Regions from separate parts of the Homo sapiens genome. Here region 1 is linked to region 2. The links are contacts of gene promoters, found by promoter capture Hi-C in blood cells and fetal thymus (Javierre and others, 2016). All regions are on one chromosome and are shown on one strand. The core of a region is centred on a gene start or on the middle of the fragment in contact, and the rest is flanking DNA. Distances in the headings are between cores, read along the strand shown. Region 1 overlaps FAM83F (family with sequence similarity 83 member F). Region 2 holds the start of SYNGR1 (synaptogyrin 1).

What was found. The method cuts DNA at HindIII sites, captures the fragments that hold promoters and counts their contacts. A CHiCAGO score of 5 or more calls a contact.
Region 1: a contact is called between a fragment that was not itself captured here and the fragment with the promoter of SYNGR1 in region 2, in 7 of 17 cell types (M0 macrophages, M1 macrophages, total B cells and 4 more). The highest score is 10.0, in M0 macrophages.

What each region holds. Positions count from the first base shown.
Region 1 is chr22:40,038,893-40,041,800 of GRCh38, reverse strand. FAM83F (family with sequence similarity 83 member F) reads right to left here. Exons shown (of 5, transcript NM_138435.4): 5 at 1-2,908. Among named protein-coding and RNA genes, the nearest start is that of TNRC6B-DT, 4.2 kb to the left of the region's middle. The HindIII fragment of the contact is 1,321 bases long and covers 977-2,297 here.
Region 2 is chr22:39,348,486-39,351,252 of GRCh38, reverse strand. It overlaps SYNGR1 (synaptogyrin 1), which reads right to left and starts at 1,262. Exons shown (of 4, transcript NM_004711.5): 1 at 1,144-1,262. The coding sequence starts at 1,242. RefSeq lists a silencer at 1,056-1,215. The HindIII fragment of the contact is 7,483 bases long and covers 1-2,767 here.

The DNA.
Region 1 (2,908 bases), core at 388-2,887, 690 kb before region 2:
TAAAGTAAAAGCCGCCCATAGTCTGTTACATCCAGACACTGTTAAGGAGACTATCTTCCCAGACTCTTTTATGAACAGACCCACAAATGAGTTTCTTCTTCCAACAAACAGTGGGATGTGGTTCAGGGTCTTTTCTGGGCTCTCAGAGCTCTCATCACCCAGAACTGCGGCTTTGGATGGAACCTGCCCTCGCTTTCTATACTTATAGGAAGGAAGCCAATCTGTCAATCAAATATTTATTGTGGAGAAGATGGGTTTCAATTCCTGTCAGAGCCAATGGCAGGACTTTTGGGGCTTACTCAGCCTGGTGTGAATGTTAAGCCAATGATTGGGGTGAGGGCGTCTGCCCTGTAGGGCTTACAGGCATGCCTTGGTGCCTGCGGAATCAACTCATACCCTGAAAAGGCAGCCCAGGTCAGAGAATGCTATGCCAGGGTGCTCTCTTGTGCTTGCTCTCATTTCCTCTCTGCATGCTACTTGGGGAAAATATTTTTCTGTTTGTTTGTTCCAACCCACCCAGCTTTCAGAGTAAAAAGACTCGTTAAGCCCTGCACACTTGTATGCAGGCCAAGTGCACTATGTTCTTGGAGCGCTGTGCTATTCTTAGCGCTCTATATGTGGTGTTCTATACAGTTGGCTTTTTGCTGGAGGGGAAGGCAGATTTCATGAGTGATAGCTGCCTTGGCTGGCTACCAAAAGTGCTCTGAGCCATCTCAAGCAACAGGCCTTCCTTTTTTCCCTTGAGAGGTTGTGTTGTGATCCCTGCCCTCGGCTTGGACAAATTCCAAGGCAATGGGAATTTTTGTGAACAATTCTGCAATAACCCACAAGCTGGGGGAAGGGGGGATAGCAAGCTGGATCTGCTCCAGCTCTAATTTCTGTGACACAGAAGAACTCCTTCCGCCCTTTGCACTGGCCCCTCATAGCTATGAAGAATTTGGAAGTGTTCATTAAGCATTCTCCAATTCTTGAAGCTTATAACAATGGGAAGATCCCTGTAAAGGAATCTGATCCAAAAGACAAGGGGACAGCTGACAGCTGATACTGCTTGCTTGGGCAGTGGGTGTAGCCATTGCCAAAGACCAAGAGCAATGAGGCAGGGAAACTCTCTAAAGAGGGCTGATTACAGAGGGCATGCTTATAAGCATTTATTGCATGTCTGGGAGCATTTACTGTGCAACACATCCCTTGTGTCTGTCTCACCTTCTAAATCACCTATCATTTTTTATGACCACACTTCCTGAGAAGCTACTTAGTTAAGCAGCAAACACTGGACCCCCTCATGTGTGCTGGCCAATGCTAGACACACAGGAGGCAGCTCACAAGAGAACCAGGATTATGGTTAATAATAACTACCCTTTGGTGGACACTTGCTGTGTGTCATACACTGTACTGAGGGCTTTACGTGGATTATGGCTGTTAATCTTCACAACAACCATTGTTATCCACATTTTCTAGATAGGAAAATGGAGGCACTGAAGGGCTAACTAACCCATCGTTGAACCTAGGCGGTCTGACTCCAACGAGTAAGCTCTTGTCCACGCTGCTATATTGCCTCTGGGATGTCTGACTTGGGAACCCCACAGTGCAGCTGGGGAGATGACCAGCCCTCAATGAACAGTTGTCCTCGTAGTCTTTAGTATCTCAGCCCCATCCTCTTTACCCCCTATAAACTCAAGGAAAGAAATACACCTCTTTCCGGCTAAATTACTGCCTCTGGTGGTCCTTCCTCCACGTCCCAACTGAGATCTGGCTTTTCTCCCACTCCCTTCAAATAGCTTCCTTCCCTTTCTTCTCTATTTTCTTATCCTAGCTTTTTAAATAATGGCCTGCGGCCATCTCCACCACCAGGAATGCTCTCTCGTTTTCTCTCTCTGAACCTGGCTTCTAGCCCTAACTCTACTGAAATTCATTTCTCTAAGCTCATCTATAACCTTTTTGTGGCCAAGATCCAAGAGACTTTCTCAGTCCTTGTTTCCATGGCTTCACCAATACGTTTTACTCTGAGAATCTTTTCTTTGCTTCCCCAAATAGCCAGCTTTCCTCCTACCTCTACAACTGTTCATGCTCTTTTCCCTACCATCTCTTTCTCTAAGCTCCTTCAAAGGAATCTGTCTGCACTTCTCTCCTTATGTTGTCTCTGGGGGCGTGCGACGCTCGCAGGACTCAGCAAGCTCAGCTGGGTCATTATCCTACTTTCACCTCTAAGATGAGAATTCTATCTCTCCATCTCCACCCTTCATTCTGCAGCTTGTTTGCTGCGTGACTTTTTGCAAGTCACACAAACTATCTAAGCTTCAGTTTCCTCGTTTCTAAAATGAATATATTGAATCGGATTTGTTATTCTCCACCTAAGATAATGATAAAACCTAACATTTTAACCCACATACCAGGCCAGGCGTAGTGGTTCATGCCTGTAATCCTCCCAGCACTTTGGGAGGCAGAGGCAGGTGGATCATGGAAGTCAGAGGTTCAAGACCAGGCTGGCCAAAATGGCAAAACCTCATCTCTACTAAAAATACAAAAATTAGCTGGGTATGGTGGCGCGCACCTGTAATCCCAGCTACTCAGGAGGCTGAGGCAGGAGAACTGCTTCAACCTGGGAGGTGGAGGTTGCAGTGAGCTGAGATCGCGCCACTGCACTCAAGCCTGGGCAACAAAGGGAGACTCCATCTCAAATTAAAAAAACTGCATACTATGCCAGGCAGGACTAAGTGGAAAATGAAAGCATGGGGTTCTGTGTTCACAGGTTTCATGCCCATGAAGCCAGCTCTAGTACCAGCCTCTGCTCCAAGCATTGTATATGTATGAGCTTATTCAGTCCTCATAGTAACTTTCTGAGGTAGATACAGATGAAGAAAGTAAGGCAGAGATAGGTTAAGCAGTTGCCCAAGGTCAGTTTTTAATT
Region 2 (2,767 bases), core at 13-2,512:
TGGCCTTGGGGTAGCCCCTGGGGTCCCTGACAGTCTAGCCCATTCCTAGTCTAAGCCCACAAGGAACGGGCCCCAGGCCTGCAGAGGCCAGAACCTCGAGTGGGAGTTTCTGGGATACAGCCAGCCAAACCCAGGGAGCCCCAGAAACCCCCTCTCCAGACCCCAGCAGGGCTTCTTTCCATGAGGTGCCACTCAAGGCACCTGAACCCCTCCCTCTGTGCTCACTGTCTCTGACCCATCCTCTCCCTGACCACCCGTCTGAACAAGAGCCCACTCAGCCCTCTGCACTGAGGACCCTGCCCCCCAGCTAGGCTGGAGGCCACCCTGGCCTCTTCACTGTGGGAGCAGACCTTTCTCCCAGACACCCGCCTTGGGCATCCAGGTGCATGCTGAGTGGGAGGGGTGTTACCGGTTCATGAAATGTCAGAGCCCAAGGGGGCCTCAAGAAGGCTCCGCCCACCTTGTCTATAAATTGGGAAACTGAGGCATGAGAGAGGAGATGACACTCCCCACCTCGGAATTGAAGTCCTCATTTCTCGAGAACATTTCCTGGGTGGCTCCCAGCCCAAGGTCACGCAGAGAAGGAGAGGCAGTTCCCGGGTGGAAGAGAGGTACTCAGTTCCCGACTCATCGCTCCACACGGGCCGGGCTAGGCAATACGAACCCGGTTCCCGGCCCTCTCCTCCTCCAACGTCCATCGCAGGCGCGGCATGCACCCCACCGAGATGGTCCACGCCCTGATCCACCCCCCAAAAAAGGCCACCTTAAACCCTGGCTCCGTCCCCACGGTCCCCAGTCCGCCCTGGCGGCCGCGCACAATCCGAGCCTTTCGCGGCATAGCCGCGGCCTGGAGGTCACAGCAATCGGGGCGGGAAGGGGGGCGCACGAACCGGGGGCCCCAGGAAACCAGGGCTCCGGGAGCCGGAGCGGCGTCTCCCGCGAGCACCAGGGATCCCGCCCGCCCCGGGCCCGGGAAGGAGGAGCGGCGGCAGCGGGCCCCGCAGGCAGGACAGCTCCTCGCCCGCCGCCGCGCCGCCGCCGGGGGCCCGTTGGGGTCGGGGTCGGGGTCGGTCCGGGCGCGCCGCCTTTGCTCACACCCCCACCACCCCGGCCTGGCAGAGCCGTCGGCCAGTCCGTCCTTACCCAAGACACGACGCGCAGGATGGTGTGCGGCTGCCGGACCAGGGTGTAGGGGTCGAAGGCGCCCCCGGCTTTGCCCGCTCCGTACGCACCCCCTTCCATCGTGGCTGCACCCGCGCGGTGCCCCCCGCTCGGCGCGCGCCGCCGGCCCGTGCGCGTGCGCGGCGCCCCCGCCCCCTCCCCTGCGCGCGCGGCCGGCGGCCCAGGGCTCCCGCGAGGGGGCGTCGTGCGCGGCGGGCGCAGCTCGCGGGGCGCGGGCGGGGGGCTGGGCAGCGCGCGACCTCGGGCGCGGGGGCGCGCGTGCTGCGGCCCGGGGCTCAGGGCGCGCTCGCAGCCAGTGCGGTGACCTCTTTGCAAAGTGTTTGGGGGAGGGCGGTGCGTGCACAGCAAGTGTGGGCCGTGTCCCTGCCCCGCATCCCCGGTCCCCTGCCCCGGTCGCAGCCCCTCTGAGCCGTCGGCTCTGCTGAAACCATCTTCACGCTTGATTTGTTTGGCTGTTTCCTGCCACTTTGTCGGCCCCAAATATAATGAGAGGGCAGGAGCTGTGTTCGTCCTTCTTAGAGGGTGCTTGGTACGCAGTAGGCGCCGCATGAATATTTCTCGAATGAATGAACCACGAGTGAATGACCCTCTCTTACAGCCCTCCAGAGCAGCCCCCACCTCCCAGGACCACCCTTCCCCTGCCTCTTACGATGACGTCATGTGTGTCCCTGTGCCCGCGCACCCTCCCACCCCCAGCCTGGAGGGGCCTGGCACAGAGGCGGCGGCTGAGACTTCCTCTTCCCCATCCCCTCCTACCCCAGAACGTTGCCCCTTTCCTGAATCTAGCAATTAATTACGCAATCATTTGTTCATGGCCTCTTCTGCTGCTAGTCTGTGAGCTCCCGAGGCCCAGGTGTTGTCTAACTTATTCAATGCCTTACCCAAGGGCCTAGCATACAGTAGGTGCTCAGTAAACAGAGCCTAGTCCCCATCACCCCATCACAGCTTGGGCTAGACCTCCAGGTTTCATGGAAACGGAGGCTAGATGGAGGAGTGCTCCCTGCAGGGGAAGGGCCACCTTCCAGGGCTGGCTCTCCTGCTGCCCTGTAGCTCTATGGCCTCTCTATGTCTGCAGTCACCTTCACTGGTTCCAGGAGCAGGTTGGATGAGGATATGGGTGGAGGCTTTTGCTTCTCTGGTATCCTGCCATTCTGTGATGACAGGACACAACATCTGTGTGGAGGAAATGTGTGCTGGGCCTGAGGGTGCTCCTTATAAAAATTACATAGTCAATGTCCATCTTAGGCTCAGCTGATTGTTTAGTCTCTACCAGGCCTTGTGCTAAGGGCTTTACATACATTTTCACATTTAATCCAGCACACTTATAAGGTGTCTACTATGACTATATAAAACTTTTAGAAGAAAGCACAAGAGAAGGCCGGGCGCAGTGGTTCACGCCTGTAATCCCAGCACCTTGGGAGGCCAAGGTGGATGGATCACAAGGTCAAGTGATTGAGACCATCCTGGCCAACATGGTGAACCCGGTCTCTACTAAAAATACAAAAATTAGCCGGGCGTGGTGGCGAGCTCCTGTAGTCCCAGCTACTTGGGAGGCTGAGGCAGGAGAATCACTTGAACCCAGGAG